Linked DNA regions of Homo sapiens: all the other regions are linked to region 5. The links are contacts of gene promoters, found by promoter capture Hi-C in human tissues and cell types (Jung and others, 2019). All regions are on one chromosome and are shown on one strand. The core of a region is centred on a gene start or on the middle of the fragment in contact, and the rest is flanking DNA. Distances in the headings are between cores, read along the strand shown.

The links. Contacts are between HindIII fragments. The study calls those that stand out against the background at their distance.
Region 1: a fragment that was not itself captured here is called in contact with the fragment with the promoter of TSHZ2 in region 5 in 4 of the 25 tissues and cell types used here (IMR-90 fibroblasts, dorsolateral prefrontal cortex, lymphoblastoid cells and 1 more).
Region 2: a contact is called between a fragment that was not itself captured here and the fragment with the promoter of TSHZ2 in region 5, in 3 of the 25 tissues and cell types used here (lymphoblastoid cells, mesenchymal stem cells and spleen).
Region 3: a fragment that was not itself captured here is called in contact with the fragment with the promoter of TSHZ2 in region 5 in 2 of the 25 tissues and cell types used here (mesenchymal stem cells and spleen).
Region 4: a contact is called between a fragment that was not itself captured here and the fragment with the promoter of TSHZ2 in region 5, in 2 of the 25 tissues and cell types used here (dorsolateral prefrontal cortex and spleen).
Region 6: a contact is called between a fragment that was not itself captured here and the fragment with the promoter of TSHZ2 in region 5, in 1 of the 25 tissues and cell types used here (dorsolateral prefrontal cortex).
Region 7: a fragment that was not itself captured here is called in contact with the fragment with the promoter of TSHZ2 in region 5 in 2 of the 25 tissues and cell types used here (dorsolateral prefrontal cortex and lymphoblastoid cells).

Annotation. Positions count from the first base shown.
Region 1 is chr20:52,531,121-52,533,915 of GRCh38, forward strand. All of the region lies in intron 5 of LOC105372666 (a long non-coding RNA gene), which reads left to right. Among named protein-coding and RNA genes, the nearest start is that of LINC01524, 88 kb to the right of the region's middle. The HindIII fragment of the contact is 9,491 bases long and covers 1-2,795 here.
Region 2 is chr20:52,625,645-52,628,344 of GRCh38, forward strand. All of the region lies in intron 2 of LINC01524 (long intergenic non-protein coding RNA 1524), which reads left to right. All of the region lies in intron 7 of LOC105372666 (a long non-coding RNA gene), which reads left to right. Among named protein-coding and RNA genes, the nearest start is that of LINC01524, 6.2 kb to the left of the region's middle. The HindIII fragment of the contact is 3,873 bases long and covers 1-2,700 here.
Region 3 is chr20:52,646,493-52,649,247 of GRCh38, forward strand. LINC01524 (long intergenic non-protein coding RNA 1524) reads left to right here. Exons shown (of 3, transcript NR_110038.1): 3 at 1-2,755. All of the region lies in intron 7 of LOC105372666 (a long non-coding RNA gene), which reads left to right. Among named protein-coding and RNA genes, the nearest start is that of LINC01524, 27 kb to the left of the region's middle. The HindIII fragment of the contact is 3,037 bases long and covers 1-2,755 here.
Region 4 is chr20:53,337,305-53,340,054 of GRCh38, forward strand. All of the region lies in intron 2 of TSHZ2 (teashirt zinc finger homeobox 2), which reads left to right. Among named protein-coding and RNA genes, the nearest start is that of TSHZ2-AS1, 170 kb to the right of the region's middle. The HindIII fragment of the contact is 5,349 bases long and covers 1-2,750 here.
Region 5 is chr20:52,971,052-52,973,788 of GRCh38, forward strand. It overlaps TSHZ2 (teashirt zinc finger homeobox 2), which reads left to right and starts at 1,307. Exons shown (of 3, transcript NM_173485.6): 1 at 1,307-2,282. The coding sequence starts at 2,243. The HindIII fragment of the contact is 6,451 bases long and covers 1-2,737 here.
Region 6 is chr20:52,505,887-52,508,621 of GRCh38, forward strand. The region is part of intron 4 of LOC105372666 (a long non-coding RNA gene); the gene reads left to right. Among named protein-coding and RNA genes, the nearest start is that of LINC01524, 110 kb to the right of the region's middle. The HindIII fragment of the contact is 3,410 bases long and covers 1-2,735 here.
Region 7 is chr20:53,234,161-53,236,860 of GRCh38, forward strand. The region is part of intron 1 of TSHZ2 (teashirt zinc finger homeobox 2); the gene reads left to right. Among named protein-coding and RNA genes, the nearest start is that of TSHZ2, 260 kb to the left of the region's middle. The HindIII fragment of the contact is 5,488 bases long and covers 1-2,700 here.

The DNA of each region.
Region 1 (2,795 bases), core at 83-2,582, 440 kb before region 5:
TATTTACTTATAGGTTCATTTCTGTCTCCCCACTACGATGTAAGCTCCAGGGGACCAGAAACTTGGTCATTTAGTTTATGGTTCTACCCCCACTGACTAAGATCCTGGCACACAGCAGGTGCTCAATAAATACTTGTTGAGTGAATGCAGAAATGAGTTGTTGTTGTCAAAAGAAAATGGCTTTGGAATTCTGTGTTGTCCTGGGGGAATACTGATGGGTCCAGGCAGTGACCTTACTGCTCTTGGACAGGCTCATTTATTGGTTTATTCAACCAATCTTTATTGAAGACCTACTATGTGCCAGGCCCTGTCCTAGGCACTGCAGATTCAGCAGTTAACAACGCATAGTTCCCTAACCTCACAGAACTTACTTTCTTATGAGGAAAGCAGAAATCAAACACATGCTTACACAAAGGATCAATTTCATTAAAACTTGGTTACTCTCTTGAAGAAAAAAGTATAGAGCCATAAGAATATGTGATATGGGAGCCTCATCTAGCTTGGGGAGACTAGGAAGCCTTCCCAGGGAAAGTCACACTTAACCTGAGACCTTAGAGATTAATAGGAGAGTATCTGGAGCAGAGGGAAAGCATGTGCAAAGGTCCTGGGGAAGGAGCAGCTTCATGTTTGAAATACAGCAAGCAACCAGTGTGGCTGCAGAAGAGAGAGTGGGGAGGACAGTGAGAAGCAAGATGCAAAGAAAGTTTCAGGTCACAGATCCCATTACTGGGTATATACCCAAAGGATTATAAATCATGCTACTATAAAGACACATGCACATGTATGTTTATTACGGCAGTATTCACAATAGCAAAGGCTTGAAACCAACCCAAATGTCCATCAATGACAGACTGGACTAAGAAAATGTGGCACATATACACCATGGAATACTATGTAGCCATAAAAAAGATGAGTTCATGTCCTTTGCAGGGACATGGATGAAGCTGGAAACCATCATTCTAAGCAAACTATCACAAGGACAGAAAACCAAACACCACATGTTCTCACTAGTAGGTGGGAGTTGAACAACGGACAAAGGGCGGGGAACATCACACACCGGGGCCTGTCAGGGGGTAGGGGGTTGGGGGAGGGATAGCATTAGGAGAAATACCTAATGTAAATGACAAGTTGATGGGTACAGCAAACCAACATGGCACATGCATACCTATGTAACAAATCTGCACGTTGTGCACATGTACCCTAGAACTTAAAGTGTAATAAAAAAAAAAAAAGAAAAAAGTTTCGAGTCAAATTACTAGATCTGTGAAGGCCCGTTTCTGCCCTTATCCTGAAAGAAATGAGGTGTCATTGAAGTGTTCCAAATAAGATAGGAAAGTCATCAAATTTTAATTTTTAAAATTTTATTGAAATTAATTAGAAATAAAATTATGTTTACACAGTGAGAGGAGTACGTCTTTAGCTTTCCTTGGATTCTCTTAAAAGAAGGAAGTTGACTCATACTCTTAAAGTGGGGTAAATTAGTAATGAGCTGGTGGTTGGAGGCAAAAGGGCTTACCTCCAATTATCTGTGTGTTAATCCAGTCCTATTCCAGGGACATTTTTGTCTGCAATCCTCAGAGATTTTATGAGATTGACTGGTTTTGTTTTGAATTAAATAAGAAATTGCTAAAGTGCCAGTTGTTCAAAATGTGTTTTTCCCCTTTGCTAAGTTTGCATGGATAGTTACTGGCAAACATACCACGAGTACCTCCTATGCATCACGCCTTAGTTGTCAGGGCTAGAAATGACGTAGATGTATTCTCCGTAAGCCGTATAAATGCTGCTCAACCAAGTGTTTCATAAATGGCTGAATGACAAACAGGGTGTTCCCCATCAGGAGTGGATATGTAAATATCACAACCTGGCCCTTGTTAGAAGAGGTATATAAAAAAGAAAGTGCTGTGGAAGAAACCAATCCTTTTTGGGCATAAAAAGAATGAGAGATCAGAGAAGGGACATTTGATTTGGGCTTTGAAGAATAAATTGGAATTTCTGAGCAAAGAGTATAACATAAACAATGGTCAACATGCCTAACTGCTCAAAGTTTAGTTATTGTGTGATTTAAGAGTATAGTAACTCATATTTAATGGTGTATTTCAGTAGACTTAAAACTTAGCCTTAACCAAAGCAACAAGAGCTATGAAAACATGCATGTTCATTTCTTTAAATGTGTATTAGAAAACAAACTAAAATTAGCACACGAACCCATGTTTTCATAGCTCTTGTTGCTTAAGGCTAAGTTTTTTTAAAAGGTTTGTTTCTAATGCACATTTAAAGAAATGAACATCCTATAGCTTGCCTATCCAATGTCCATTTTCCCCCTTCCTCTTCTAACAGAACCCCAATGTATGAGGTTACCCACCCATCCTCCATGCAATCTTGTGCTTCAAGGAAAGCTGACCCCATTCCCACCTCAAGTAAATAGAACTTACTAAGACAGGTATCAGAATCTTGTTTTCCTTTCCAGTGATTGGCTCAGGAGAGGTCATATGATCCAGCTCTGGCCAATGAGAAGTAAGGAAAGATCTGCCCAGGGATTTCTGGGAAAAGTTTTCTCCTTAAGGAGACACCAGAGAGGACTTTTCTGCATTCTGTAGCTGCAGTAGCTCATCTTCCCACCAGGAAAAGAGCTAGCTTGCAGGTGATGCTAGTACATTAATGATGGCAGAATGGACACGTGGAAAGAATCTTGATGTTGATGAATCACAGACCTATTCCCTTAAACGACTGTAGAGAGTTGCTCTGCCTCTGGACTTCTTACTCTATGAAAGAAAGTAAAGGGCCAGAGAGTTAAT
Region 2 (2,700 bases), core at 141-2,640, 350 kb before region 5:
AAAAAGTAGGCCAGGCGTGATGGCTCACACCTGTAATCCCAGCACTTTGGGAGGCTGAGGTGGGTGGATCACGAGGTCAAGAGATCAAGACCATCCTAGCAACGTGGTGAAACCCCGTCTGTACTAAAAATACAAAAATTATCTGGGCATGGTGGCATGCGCCTGTAATCCCAGCTACTCGGATGCTGAGGCAGGAGAATCACTTGAACCTGGGAGGTGGAGGTTACAGTGACCTGAGATCGCGCCACTGCACTCCAGCCTGACAACAGAGTGAGACTCTGTCTCAAAATAATAATAATAATAAAATAAAATAAATAAAAAATAAAAAATATTGAGCCATAACATGTATTTGGGAGGAGGTTTATTGTTTAATTATCTAGTAACATGTAACAAATGATCCCCAAATTTAGTGATTTAAACTCACAAGTTTGTTTTGCTCATGATTTCTGGGTCAGGAATTAGGAAAGGGCTCAGCTGACTGGTTCTCACCTGGAGGTCCTCGTGTAGTACAGTCTGATATTGGGTGAAGCTGAGGCTGTAGTCATTTGAAGGATGTCCAAGTTGTGCCATTGCCATGGCTGGCAGCTTTGGGACCTTAACTGGGGCTGTTGGTCAGAGCATTCATGTGACCCTTTCACCACGATGGTCTCAGTGTAGCTGGACTTCTTGAATAGCAGCTCTTGCTCCCTCCAGAATAAGCATCTCAGGAGAAACCAGAGAGGGAAGCTGTATGGCTTTTCCTGACAGCCTTGGAAGTCACGTAGCATTCCCTCTGTCATAATGTATCCATCAAAGCTGTCATAAGCCTGCCTTGGCTCAAGGGCTGGGAATTAGACTATACTTTTTTTTTTTTTTTTTTTTAAGACGGAGTCTCACTCTGTCGCCAGGCTGGAGTGCAGTGGTGCGATCTCGGCTCACTGCAACCTCTGACTCCCAGGTTCAAGAAATTCTCCTGCCTCAGCCTCTCAAGTACCTGGGACTACAGGCACCTGCCACCACGCCCAGCTAATTTTTGTATTTTTAATACAGACGGAGTTTCACCATGTTGGCCAGGATGGTCTCGATCTCCGGACCTCATGATCTGCCCACCTCAGCCTCCCAAAGTGCTGGGATTACAGGCATGAGCCACCGCACCAGGCCTAGACTATACTTCTTGATGAGGGAATAGCAAGATCACATTGTAAGCCAGCCTATGGAATGGGAGAGATGACTGAGGCTATCTCTGAAAAATGTAAACCTCATCATTACCGATTAAGTTATTTATTAATAGATATTTATGGAATGCCTGCTATGTGCCAAGCTAAGAATATGAGTAAAAAGCATGAAAAAACACAAGATCCCTGCTGTTCTGGAGCCTATATTCTAGTACAGAAAATATCAGATCATGGTTTTAAATGTAAATCTATATGTTACATAATCTGCTGGATAACTTCCTTTTTTGTTTGTTTGTTTTGACAACTCCGAGTTGCTCATCATCATTTTTTTTTTACATCACAATATAACTGATAAAAAGCTCCTGTTAATGGTGGAAGAAGTTAGAGCCATTTTCTCCTTGCATGCAGATGCTTGCATTGTTAAAATTTCCTTCAATTCACATTACTTTGTAGGAATCTTTAAGCCACTAGTCCTTTTTGTGAGGGCTGCTATAGTTAAGAGGTGATAATGCTGTCTATGAATCCACATTACTAGGCATGTGTAAATTGCAAGAAACCTCAATAGGCTGTAGGCTAGAGGCAGTAAGAACACCATTGTCATCTGCAGAGACAATTTGACTTCCTCTCTTCGTATTTGAATACCCTTTATTTCTTTCTCTTGCCTGATTGCTCTGGCCAGAACTTCCAATACTATGTTGAATTGGAGTGGTGAGAGAGGGCATCCTTGTCTTGTACTGGTTTTCACAGGGAATGCTTCCAGCTTTTGCCCATTCAGTATGATATTGGCTATGGGTTTGTCATAAATAACTCTCATTATTTTGAGATATGTTCTATCAATACCTAGTTTATTGAGCATTTTTAGCATGAAGGGGTGTTGAATTTTATTGAAGGCCTTTTCTGCATCTATTGAGATGATCATGTGGTTTCTGTCATTGGTTCTGTTTGGATTACATTTATTGATTTGCATTCTACTATAAAGACACATGCATATATATGTTTATTGCAGCACTATTCACAACAGCAAAGACTTGGAACCAAACCAAATGTCCATCAATGATAGACTGGATAAAGAAAATGTGGCACATATACACCATGGAATACTATGCAGCCATAAAAAAGGATGAGTTCATGTCCTTTGCAAGGACATGGATGAAGCCAGAAACCATCATTCTCAGCAAACTAACACATGAACAGAAAACCAAACACTGCACATTCTCACTCATAAGTGGGAGCTGAACAATGAGAACACATGGACACAGGAGGGGAACATCACACACCAGGGCCTGTTGCGGGGGCGGTGGGGGGCTTGGGGAGTATAGCATTAGGAGAAATACGTAATGTAGATGATGAGTTGATGGGTGCAGCAAACCACCATGGCACATGTATACCTATGTAACAACCTGCGTGTTCTGCACATGTATCCCAGAACTTAAAGTATAATTTAAAAAAAAAAGAATGCCATTGCCTCCCCCATCCCCAATTCCTCTGAGTTGTAGAATTCCCACCTTCTCTCAGAATTTCTGCAATACCATATGTAACCGACGCA
Region 3 (2,755 bases), core at 84-2,583, 320 kb before region 5:
AAGAGGAACAGCATCGATTGTTAATATGCTGTCTGCTTTCAACCCCCAAAGGATTATTTTCAGAATGAAATGATCTGTGGTCTTTAAGGGGTGGGGATGGGAGGAGCTGAAGAACTCTCGATCCTTCGAAGAGGTCCCAGTGGACTTGATTTCTCAGTGGAAACAGAGGGATTTCCTTCTGCAGTGGGAAAGAGACACGAAGTGATAAACCGAGCACCCTCTTTGAAGATTTCCCAGTATATTTGTCCCTAGAGGAGTGCGCCTCCGGGAGATTTATTGTTGGAAGCTTTTATCCTCAAGCGTAATTTTTAGAAGTATGTATTTCCCTAGAAACAGAGTAGCTCCATTTAAAAGTCACAGGTGCCCCCAAGCTCTGCTGGGAAGATTACTTCAAGTTTCATTTAATACCCATCTCAGACCTGGAGGCAAATTATTTAGTTCATCACTCTGAAAATGGATTTTTTTTCCCTTCTACTTCCCATTTCAGCACCTGCCATCTTGTGGAAAGGGACTTGCTTCCCAAGAGATGAGAAATGGACAGGAGTGGAGCCTGAGTCCAAGTACTGTGATTTCTTATCTCCCACAAATGTGCAGGAATATTTAGTCAGGGAGATCATCTTCCTGGAGAAATTGGCCCATCCTACTCCTAGAGTGCTGTGTTAGTTGTAGTTCCTCCAGGTGCCACCTCGAAGACCAGGGTCAGAGTACAGTCGCTTACATGGGAGGTAAATCCACAAAACAGTGGCGGAAGAGGGGGAAAATGAGACAAGGATGGGAAGGCAATCAGGAAAGGGCATGTTATCAAGCAAGGCACTGTTCTGGGCAATTGGAGCTTACACCTGCTAGGGAAGCCTGAGACAGTGGGGAACATGTACCTCACAGTGATGCTCGTGAGGGCCGGGGGAACTGGGATATTAATCCACCAATTCCATCTGTTACTGATTGAGGGCTGCTTACTGGCGGTATTGATTCCCTGGCACTTCAGGTCAGAGAAAGCCTTCGGTCATAGAGAACATGAAGCCATGGGGCCCAGAGTGCCCAGGGCTGAGTGGATGTGGGCGATGGCCAATGACAATGGCTACCAACAGTGGATTGGATCTTTGGCATCTCATTTCTTCTAAGTCTCCTTAACCTCTGTGCTTGGTGCTGAGGTGAAGCAAACAATTAAGATCCAGTGTTGTCCTTAGGATGCTCACACTTCAGTGAGGGAGTTGAGGAAGCTAAACAGGTAAGCAATTTTGAGCCTGTGAAGTTAGTAGTCTACGAAGATATATTTAAGAATATGTGCATCGTTTGTGATATGCATATTATTTGTCAGGCTGTACTCTAAGCATTTACCTTGACTAACTTATTTGATGCCCACAAGAACCCTCTAAAGTGGGTGCATTTGCTGTCTCTTTTAGAGATAAGGAAGTGGAGGTATGGAAACATTAAAGTGTTCAGCTAGTCTGTAGTGAAGCCAGGATTTGAATACAGGCTATCTACTTCCAGAGCCCTGTTCTTATCCACTAGGCTATGGGTCAGGCTTTCTCAACCTTTATTATTATTGCCATTCTGTGCTGAATAATTCTTTGTCATAGGGGCTGTCCTGTGCATTGTAGGATGCTTGGCAGCATACCCTCTACCACTAGAAGCCAATAGTACCTGCCTCCCCACCTCCTGTTCTGACAACCAAAAATGTCTCCAGACATTGCCAAATGCCCACTGGGGCACAAATAGCACCAATTGAGAACCACTGCTGCCTATTATAAGGCAATCAGTTTTTCCTAGGGAAGTGTTATAGAAGGCAGATGGAAATTTCTTTTCTTGTTGTTTAATCTTCCTTCTCATAAAAATAAGGAGAAAAGTAGTATTTCAGAGCTGATCGCATCTCTAAATCAACAGCCAAATATCTCCCAGGGCAGAGAAAATGGAAGTAGAAATCAAGTTATTGAAAAATCAACTTAAGTTTGTGTGTGTGTGTGTGTGTGTGTGTGTGCACCTGCGTTGTAAACAGGGCATCCTTGCCCACTGTGCTCTGCTGCCAGCCCTTCGAACAGGCTGTTTCCATGGTCATTTTTAAAATGTTGTCTTGCAACATGGTGAACTGAGGAATTAGCAAAAAGACCGTTAAAGGAGAATAGGCAGTGTGTTCACACGGGATTGTTTGTCTTATTATTTTTCATTTTCCTTGGGCGATTTTATTTGTAATTTTTTCGGAGTTTTGTTTTGAACTCTCTTTATCCAAGTAAATACATCCTTCTTCCTTCTGTCACAAGCTGGTGGATTCCAAGCTTTATTTTCCAAATCCTCCCAACCCTATTTTATCCATGTGGCTTCTTGGAGCTGGTCAAGTCTGCAAACTGATCCTTGAGATTTTGGGGTGTTCTGTGTGAGGACAGTAGCCCTAATTTTGGCATTAAAGCGTCCTTGTTTGTCTCCTTTCTTTCTTCTTCCAAGATACTCTTTAAAAATTCAGTCTTCTCCAAATTTGGCTTTGTAGCTAATCTATGTGATCAGAGAAGCATCATTTTAGTGTTGGAAGCCTGAATAATTCGCTTTTTCAGTTGGTCGTGGAAGTAAAATTCCAGATGTTTAAGCATTCTTTGTAACAAAGCTTTTTCATGTGCCTGTGGATAATTTACTAAGCAGTGCTTTGTGAATCTGCTTGCTTCTCTATGACAAATGCTTTTGATGATCGCTGCTCATGCTCATGCTCAAATACATAGTCACTCTAATGACTTAAATTACTTTTGCATGGTATTTATGGGAGGTG
Region 4 (2,750 bases), core at 176-2,675, 370 kb after region 5:
ATAATTACTGGTTGAATACTGTGGGACTGTTGCCTTGCCATGTTGACACATAAAACCAACCATCACAAAGGGTGCCATGATTTTTTTAAAAAGTCCCTTCTAACAAGGTTTTGCCTTTTTCATTAGAGAAGGACCCATTCTCTGTATGTTTCATTGGACGGAACTGTCACATGACCACCCCTGGTTACCACAGAGGCTGGAGCTGGAGTATGTTGTTCCTCAGCCACTCTAGGAGGGATATACCCAGGGATGTCAGCTGTGAGTGGATGCTGAGTGAGCCAATCCATAGGATCTTCCATGACCTAGTTACTGAACATCTAATGAGTACAAGAGGCTGAACAACCACGTGTGGCTCAGATTCGATTCTTGTTAATCATTACCAAAGATAATTAAATAACATTGACTCCCAACGTGAAAAACTCATTTCCCTTCCATGCGTGGCAGCTGAAACTGCTTTTTGATGTAGAGTAGGGCTATAAAATGCCTTTTAAAGTGTTTAAGCTAAAATGGAAACCCTGTTAAAGAAAAATATTTAGAAAGTGCCTTGGTACTAATTGTACGCTAGAGCAGACATTGGGAAACTGTCATGTGAGTTGCTTAGTCATGAATCACTGATTGGAATATGGTTCTTCAGTGCTTCCCCTGGCTAAAGCACAGGCTCAAAGCTATGTTGTCCATGTCCCTGGCCAGGCAGCATGAGACGTGTTCATGAGGAAGTTAGAAAACCTCTCTGACCCTCCATCTCCTCACCTGCAGAGCAGGGACACACCATAGTGTGTCCATGAAGTCAAACGTGGTCCTGCAAACTCTTTGCAAGGTGCTGGCCTGTCGCAGGCATTCACCAGCCATGAGGTTATTGTTACTATTCCACCTCATAATTTATCTGAGCAGAGAGAATGTCTTCATAATTCTTTCCACATAAAATTGAAGGGTTTTAGTATAAAAAGAGTGATGGGCTGGGTTGGAGGAGGATTTAACCCTGCCAAACCATCATGCTCTCTATCTAACGTGGGATGGTGAGAACAATGGAAACATCGGTGAAGCCCATTCGCCTCTCCAAGGAGGGTCTCCTATGATGACTGCCTGGGTCCTCCCTACTAGAAAAAGTAACACAATTAGTATTCTCTCTTCCAAAAGGAGTAATTCAGGCACTTTATGATTAAATAACTTGTCCCAGGTCAAACAAGTAGTAACTGCCCACACTAACTTGAAATCGACAAGGTGACTTTGCCTTCTAGGGGACAGTTGACAATGCCTAGAGACATGGTTGATCATGACTTGGAGGGCTGGGGTGGTACTGGCATCTGGCAGATAGACACCAGGGAAGCTGTGGAATGTCCTACAGTGCCTGGGACAGCCCACCCCCTACAAGAAAGGAGCACCCAGCTCCAAATGTTAAGAGTACTCAGCTCTAAATGTCAGGAGTACTCAGCTCCAAATGTCAGGAGTACTCAGCTCCAAATGTCAGGAGTACTCAGCTCCAAATGTCAGGAGTACTGAGGGCGAGAAGTCCTGCTCCAGAGTCCCTGTGAGCCTTTCCTCACAGGTTTTCATGAGGGTCAGATGAGGCCAGCACTGCGTCAGCGTTCTGTAAACCTCAGGCAGGAGCCAGGCATGCATTGCAGTGATGGGAAGCACTGATGAAGCCTTCTTAGCAAAGCACAGACGTGTTGGCCAATGCATACATTTAAGAAAGTGGGTTCCAAATTTTCTCTCTCTGAATCATTGGCAAATAACAACAAATGACAAAGAATTAAGCTCAGCATTGTCACCAAACTAGCCATGTCACACCTGTAACAGTTAAATACCTCAGTCCACAAGCTTGGGTGCAGAAGAAATCTAACATTCTCTTATTTTCTTCACCTGAACTTAATTTATATTTCCAGTCCCTAATCTTAGTGGCAGATACTTCATCTTAGTCAACTCAGGACTCCTTCCTCTTCCAAGAGATACAGCTAATACCAGGCCCTATGCAGGGAGTGGTGGGCACATTCAGGCCAGGGAAAGAGGGTTCATTGGCCAAGGTGGCTGCGGAGGCCTGAGTTGTCCCCAGCCTCAAGCTCTCATAGTATTTTCTGGTGGTCAAGGGCCAGGGCATTACTGGCTGTTCCTGAGCCACTTTGAACCCTGAAAGGCCTCATCATGGCGTATTCTGCCCTCAAACTTGGGAGACAGCTCCGTCCTTCTCACACTGGGGCACGTGGGAGCTCTGTAAGGTGGCCACAGCCAGCTACATGATTTTCAGGGCCCAGTAAAAAATGAGCATTCAGGATCCCCTGTTCAAATATTAATAGGAATTTCAAGATGGCAAAGTGCATGAAGCCAAGCACAGGACGCTATGCAGTTGCACAGGTCAAATGCCCATGAAGCTGGCCCTGGAATGACCTTCAGGCCCATCTGCTGAGATGCTCCTCTCAGCCACTGTGCTGCCAATCCTCCCCTCCTGCACTGGAGCCCAGGAAAGCTGGGGGACTCGCTGCTCTCCTGGGCACTGCTGGAGGAAGGGATGCAGGTTATTGCTACTCCTAAATCCACGCAAAACTTTTAGGATTTGTATCATCTCCCCTTCCTCTGGAACACCAGGCAGCATCTCACTTCCCAGCCCACCTGCAGCTCTCATCTGCCCCCCAAATCCCAATGTGTGTCTGCTCAGGCCCAGCAGGGAACACCTGTGCTTTACTCATGCCTTTTCCTTTGTCTGAGTTGTCTCAAGAATCTTGCTTTTGCAAAAATTGCATCTGTTCAACTCA
Region 5 (2,737 bases), core at 57-2,556:
GCACTCCTTGAGGGCATGGTCTAGGTTCACCTTGTTCACAGACTTGCCCCCAACACCTCAAAAGGTGCCTGGCCGATAGCAGAACTCAATAATCACATGTTTGTTTCAATCTCTCTGTGCTCAAATGCCATATCCTACATTGAATCTAGAGCCACCCACCCCCTTTTAGACACTATTACAGCACTCAGCTTAACGTCTTCATGGAGCGAATCACTCAAAGTATCCTGTTTATTTGCTTGCTTACTTTTCATTCATTCAACAAATATTTTACTGGGCACTTATTATATGTCTTGTGCTTTGCCAGCACTTGGGGATATAAGAGAACAAAGAGGCAAAAATCCTTCCTTCCATTGGAGCTTACATTCAAGAGGGGAACTTGTACAATCAACAGAATAGAAAACTGTCTATAACCTGTGTGACACTCACTGATCAGCTCACTGGGGAATAACAAAATGGAGAAATGGGGCAGGGAGTGTGTGTGTGTGTGTGTGTGTGTATTTTAGGTGAGGTAGACCTTTGGGAAAAGGGGACATTTAAGCAAAGATTGGATAGCTGGGGGGCACTTGTCTGCACTCCCCCATTAGAATATAAATACCAACATGGCCACCACCTTCCCTTTCTCTGTGGCCTCTGTGTCTCCAGAATAGGCACATAGTAGATGCTCAATAAACATTCTTCAAAGGAAACAAAAAGAGGAGTATATGATTAGACCTTAAAGTAGACAGAAGGGAGATTTTTGTTTTTGTGACCACCCATTGATTAGCGAGAAAGTGGGAGGGACAGGGGCACTAAATTGAAGGGGTCGTGGGGAGCACATTTTGGTGGGGGCAGGTTAAGACTTACAGGATGGAGATCCTCACTGGATAAGGTCCCCTCCCCCTTCCCAGCCCCGAGCAAACCTAAGTTCTCCCTCTCCTAAGATTGTGCATGGTCCCTGCTGGTCAGCCAACCTGGCCCCCCTGAATCTCCCTCCACAGCCTCCCAGCTTCAGAGTTCAGCCATCATCACACTGCCTCCTTTTCTCCCGCACCCCTTCCCTCCTCACCTCCTTTCCTCCCGCCCCCGCCCCTTCCGCCTCCCGGAGGGGTGTCCCCGCGCCCGGTGGGCACGCCCTCGCCCCGGCGGAGAGGGCGCACAGAGGGGCCTGGGCCGGCGCGCCGGGGCCCCCGCCCCCAGCCCCTCTCCCCTGCGGGACGCTGTCCCTTTAATAGGCTCCCGCTGCCTGGCGCTCTGCGGCTGGGGAGTAAATTTCTCCCTGTCATCAGGTCGCGGGGAGAGGAGGAGGAGGAGGAGTTTGTTAATGTTCAGTTTGTTCAGCGGGATCGATGTTTGCTGGCATCGCCTCGCCCTGTCTTGTGTGTGTGTGCGAGGGTGTGTGTGTGTGTTTGTGTGTGTGTGCATATGTGGGGGGTGTGAGTGTGTGTGTGCGAGGAAGCGGGGGTGCGTGCGCGTGTGAGTGCGTGTGTGAGTGTCTGTGTGTGTGTCTGTGTGTGTGTGTGAGTGAGTGAATTCCAGATTTTCTGTCTTTCCAAAACCCGCTCCTGTCCTCTCGCATATCACTCACAGACGGGGATCTGACAGCAGCCACAAACCTACAGTGAGTGATCGCTCTCCCCCCGGCACGAATCCGCCATAGAGATCGGCGAGGAGGAGGAGGAGGAGGAGGAAGAAAAGAAGGAGGAGGTGGAGGAGGAGGTGGAGGAGGAGGAGGAGGAGGGAAAGAGGAGAAGGAAGAAGAAGAAAAAGAAGAAACCCACTACCTTCCCAGGATTGCCTTTTTTTTTTCCTTATCTTTACGCGCGAGTGTGCCTGTGGCGCGTGTGCGCCCCTCGTCCCTTCCATCCGAACCCGGGCTTGGATGTTTAATAAAGAAATCAAGTGTCTCAACAGTCACCAAAAAAAAAAAAAACCGCAAAAACAAAACCAAAAAAATTCCAAAAGCAAAAACAAAAAAGAGAGAGGAAAAAAAATTCAAAATAAACAAACAAACAAACAAGGCAGAACCAACCTCTACTTCAAAGCAGCCGGCACAAGCCACCCGTGTCTGCCACCCAGAGAGGGGGGTCTCTGGCCCGTGGTGGAGGAGTTGCAGGGGGGATCGTCAGGGGGACAGAGGCCGAGTGACGTCCTAGGAGCCACCGGGCAAGAGGCGGAGGAGACCCAGAGAGGCCAGAGAGACAGCGGGCCCCAGCGCGCGGCTCGGGGCTGGGGCGCCAGAAGTGGGACTGGAGCGAAGTAGAGGATGCCGAGGAGAAAACAGCAGGCACCCAAGCGGGCGGCAGGTAAGAGAAACGGCTCCGCTTCGGGGCTGCCCTGTGCGCCGAGCTCCTCGCCCGCCCTCCTTGCCCCTGGGTGCCCGGGGGCACCACCCACTTAAGCTTTCGGGGGAGTTTGCGCCGGGTGCCCTTCTAATAACCCCGTCCTCTCTCGCCTTCTCTGGTCTCCCAAATCCTCCCCTTCCAAGCTCCGGTTGGGTTGGGGTGAGCTATCCCACCAAGCCTTTCCTCCTTAAACTTTCTTTCCTCCACCCTCTACCCCACCCCTAACTTTCTTCCAGTCTGTTTCTTGCCTCTCGGGCCAAAGTCGGATTGAGGATTTGGGGTGCGGAGTAGGGAGACAGCCCCTCCACCCCTGCATCCCTCTGCGTGGTCAGTGCCAGTGGCTTTTGGCCTCCAGGGATAGCGTCTCCTCTCACTGGGGCTTGGGGCGCTGAAGTGTGAGGCATACCTAACACTCG
Region 6 (2,735 bases), core at 187-2,686, 470 kb before region 5:
TTCACCTATAAAGACACACATAGACTGAAAATAAAGGGATGGAAAAAAGTTATCCCATGCAAATGAAAACTAGAAAAGAGGAGGAGTAGCTATACTTATATTGGACAAGATAGAGTTCAAGAGAAAAACCTATAAAAAGAGACAAAAAAGGTCATTACATAAAAGAGTAAATTCAGCAGGAGGATACAACAATTATAAATATATATGCACCCAACAGTAAAGCTCCCAGATATACATGAAGCAAATATTATATTATTATTAGAGCTAAAGCGAGAGCTAGACTCCAACACAATAATATCTAGAGACTTACACCCCACTTTCAGCATTGAACAGATCATCCAGACAGAAAATCAACAAAGAAACATTGGACTTAATCTGCACTAGAGACCAAATGGACTTAATAGATATTCACAGTACATTTCCCTTAACACCTGCAGAACACAATTCTTCTCCTCAGCACATGGATCATTCTCAAGGATCGACTATACATTAAGCCCCAAAACAAGTCTTAAAACATTCAAAAATTGAAATCCTATCAAGTGTCTTGTTTGACCACAATGGAATAAAACTAGAAATCAACAACAAGAGGAACTTTGGAAACTATACAAAAACATGGAAATTAAATAATATGCTCCCGAATGACCAGTGGGACAATGAAAAAATTAAGAAGGAAATTTAAAAATTTCTTGAAATAAATGAAAATAGAAACACAACACATCAAAATTTATAGGATACAGCAAAAGCAGCACTAAGGGGAAAGTTTATAACAATAAGTGCCTACATCTAAAAAGCAGGAAAACTTCAAATAAACAACTTAATGATACATCTCAAAGAAATACAGAAGCTAGAGCTAACCAAACTTAAAATTAATAGAAGAAAATAAATAATAAACATTGGAGCAGAAATTAAAGAAACCAAAAAATACAAAAGATCAGTGAAAGCAGTGGTTGATTTTTTTTGAAAAGATAAACAAAATTGACACACTGTTTGCCTAAGAAAAAAGAGAGGAGACTGAAATAAATAAAATCAGAGGTGAAAAAGGAGAAATTACAACTGATAACACAGAAATTCGAAGTATTATTAGAGGCTCCTATGAGCAACTATATGCCAATAAATTGGAAAACCTAGAAGAAATGGATAGATTCTTAGACACATACAACCTATGAAGATTAAAACGTAAAGAAATTCAAAATCTGAACAGAGCAATAACAAGTAATGAGATCGAAGGCATGATAAGAAGTCTCTTAGCAAAGATAAGCCCAGGACCTGATGGCTTCACTGTTGAATTTTACTAAACTTTTAAAGAACTAATACCAATTCTACTCAAAGATTTCAAAAAATAGAGGAGGAGAGAATACTTCCAAACTCATTCTACAAGGCCAGTATTATCTTCCTGCCAAAAACAAAAGACATCAGAAAAAGAAAACTACAGTCCAGTATCCCTGATGAGGATTGATGCAAAAACCCACAATAAAATACTAGCAAACAGAATTCAACACCACATCAAAAAAAAAAAAATCATTTGTTATGACCAAGTGGGATTAATCCAGGGATGCAAGGATGGCTCAATATATACAATTCAATTAATTTGATTCACTCTATCAACAGGATGAAGGGCAAACACCACATGATCATTTCAATCGATGCTAAAAAAGCATTTGATAAAATCCAACATCTCTTTATGATAAAAACCCTCAAAAAACTGGGTATACGAGGAACGTACCTCAACATAATAATATCATACTGAATGGGGAAAAACTGAAAGCTTTTCATCTAAGATCTGGAACACAACAAGGATGCCCAATTTTATTATAATTATTCAGCAAAGTACTGGAAGTCCTAGCTAGGGCAATCAGATAAGAGAAAGAAATAAAAGGCATCAAATTTGAAAATAAGAAGTTAAATAATCCTTGCTTGCAGATGATATAATCTTATATTTGGAAAAACCTAAAGACGCCACCAAAAAACTATTAGAGTGGATAAACAAATCAGTAAAGTTGCAGGATACAAAATCAACATACAAAATCAGTAGTATTTCTATATGCCAACAGCAAGCAATGTGAAAAAGAAATTGAGAAAGCAATCTCATTTACAATAGCCACAAATAAAATAAAATACATAGGAAGAAAACAAAAAAAGTGAAAGATCTCAATAATAAAAAGTATAAAACATTGATGAAAGAAAGAGGATAACAAAAAAATGGAAATATACTTCATGTTTTCATAGATTGGCAGAATCAATATTGTTAAAATGTCCACACTACCCAAAGCAATCTACAGATTAAATGCAATCTCTATCAAAATACCAATGACTTTCTTCACAGAAATAGAAAAAAAAATCCTAAAATTTATTGAGAACTACAAAAGACCCATAATAGTCAAATATATCCTGAGAAAAAAAGAACAAAACTGAAGTAATCACATTACCTGACTTCCAGTTATCCTATGGAGCTATAGTAACAAAAGCAGCATGGTACTGACATAAAGACACATAGACCAATAGAACAGAATAGAAAACCCAGAAATAAATCCATGCGTCTTCAGTGAACTCATTTTTGACAGAGGTGCCAAGAATATACACTGGGGTGAGGACAGTCTCTTCAATAAGTGGTGCTGTGAAAACTGGATATCCATATGCAGCAGAATGAAACTATACCCCTATCTCTTGCCATATACAAAAACCAAATAAAATGAATTAAAGACTTAAATCTAAAACCTCAAACTATGAAACTACTT
Region 7 (2,700 bases), core at 115-2,614, 260 kb after region 5:
AGCAAATGTTGGAAGTCTGGGAAGCAAGACTAGTCCCTGGGACCTATGTTTTATTGGAAAATAGAAGGTAGGTGCAAACCCACAGCCAACCCAGAAAAATTCTGGTGAGTGGGTAAGTTTTGCTCTCCTTTGGGAGTTGAAAATGTCAAAGATTCATGAAATTTTCATTGAGTCATTCAACAAATACTTTTTTGAGAACTTACCAAGCACCATGCACAGGTGCCTCCATACAGCATCAAGCCAAAGAGACAAAGATACCGGTTCTTACAAAGCTTACAAACTAACAAAGAAAGATCACAATTAACAATAGAAATAATAAAGAAGTAAATTCTGTAGTAAGCTACAAGTTGGTAAGTATGAAGGCAAAAGAAAAATAGAACAGAAGAAGGGAATTGGGAGTTCTGAAAGAATGGGGAGACTGGTTGCAACGTTAAATAGGGTGACTGGAGTAAAGTGCCATCAGGAAATGATATTTAGGCAAAGATTTGAAGGAAGTTAGGAAAAGTGCAGAGACAGCAGCCAGCGCAAAGGCCTAAGATGGGAATGTTCCTGGCTTATGGGAAATAGCAAAGAGGTCAGTATGGCTGGAGCAGAAAATCCAGGAAGAGGGAAATAGAAGAAAGCGTTGGAGACCAAGTGGAGAGCTAACATACATAGAAATCTGAGGGCCATGGTGAGAACATTGACTTTTTCTTTGAGTGGGAAGAATGTCCCTTGGGAGGTTTTGAGCAGGGAAGTGACAGGATCTGATGTATCTTTCATTCTGACTGCTAGGAGTGTTAAGCATTGACAGTAAGCCACAAGGATGGGATCAATTCATGGAGGAGTCAAGGTGGCATGAGAGGTGCCCAGTTGAGACCATTGTTCACTTTCAGTCCCCTAGGAGCGCACCTCGTCACTTAATGTCTCATTGCAGAAAGTTGAGGTGGAAGATGCTTGGGTCTTGGGTCTCTGAGCTTGGTTTTGTTGGGCGGGGCGGGGGGGGGGGAATGGGGGAGGGCGTGTTTGTTTGTTTGTTTGTTTTTGAGCCAAAGTCTCACTCTGTCACCCAGGCTGGAGTACAGTGTCATGATCTTGGCTCACTGCAACCTCTGCCTCTTGGGTTCAAGTGATCCTCCCACCTCAGCCTCCCAAGTAGCTGGGATTACAGGCGTGGACCACCATACCCAGCCAATTTTTTTGTATTTTTAGTAGAGACGGGGTTTCACCATGTTGGCCATGCTGGTCTCAAACTCCTGACCTCATGTGATCCACCCACCTCAGCCTCCCAAAGTGCTGGGATTACAGGTGCGAGCCACCACCCCTGGCCAGGACTTGAGTTCATATCCTGCTTCTGCCAGTGTGTACCAGAAAGCCACTTTCATCTCTTCTGCTAGCCCGAAATCCCTCACATAAATGTAAAAATATCTACCTCACAGGATTATTTCCAAAATAAAATGTATATTGCATACTGTACCAGGCACACAGTAGGTACTTGAAGAAATAAAAGGGAAGCTCTCTCTTTATATATCCCCAATAATGAGAGAGATTTTATGAGATGCAAATTCTGTCGCCTGGAAGCTATTTAGATTTACAATCTTTATTTTAAGTTGGTTTGCCTGAGTAATTAATTCAAAGTTAAGATTTTATTGGTGAGGTGCCCAGGATTTTAGCAATTGAGTTAGTTGAACATGAAAGGTCTTTAAGAATGAAAGATAAAATAAAGTCTGTTCCATTGTAGCTCATCTTCCTGTGAAGCAGATTAGTTCACTCCTGATTGGTAAATAGGTTAATGATATGAATATAATGAGAACGTCACATTGATGCACATGTAATTTTTTCCAACACGTTATTGTTTAGCACCACTGAGTAACAGCAGCCAAATGCAAAGTTCACCAACACAGCTGAATCCAGCAAAGAAAGCAGTCAATTCATAAAAGTCAATCCTCTTAGCTCAGGTTAACCATGTAAATCTGCCTCAGAAGCCTGACTGTCACCTCTCCCTGATTTTTAAAAATTTGACCTGCCTGTAACTTCACAATCTCACTACCTCTTTAAACTCCTTTCTATCTAACTACCATCACTTCTTTATTTACAAAGGTTAAGTCTTTTATTTGCTCTGGCATTCCTTTACTTATTATGAATTGAACAAGTGTATCTAACCCAACCAGTAGGTTTATTATGTTTGTTATTGTTTGCTTACTCTCTGGATGCTAAGTTGCTTACTTTCTAAGTGGTCTATCCTAACCTTATTTTTCCCATAAGTGCTATAATTTTAACTGCAAAGCTGTGCAAAATGCAAGATTTGTCTAGGAACACACATTGCATTATAGCAGAAACACACGTGCCTCCACTATACACATTGGTAATGGCAGGGCATCATGGAAAACTGACATGCCACAAGTAAGCTAGTACACAGCTGTGAGAGGGCACTGGGTCTGGGGTCTAATGAACTCACTTCAAAGCTAGATTCAATCAGTTTCTGGGCATGTGACTGTATTAGTTCATTCTCACGCTGCTCTAAAGAACTGCCTGAGACTGGGTTATTTATAAAGGAAAGAGGTTTAATTGACTCACAGTTCTGCATTACTTGAGAAGCCTCAGGAAACTTACAATCATGACGGAAGGCAAAGGAGAAGCAAACATGTCCTTCTTCACATGGCAGCAGGAGAGAGAAGTACAGTATGAAGTGGGGAAAAGCCCCTTATAAAACCATCAGAT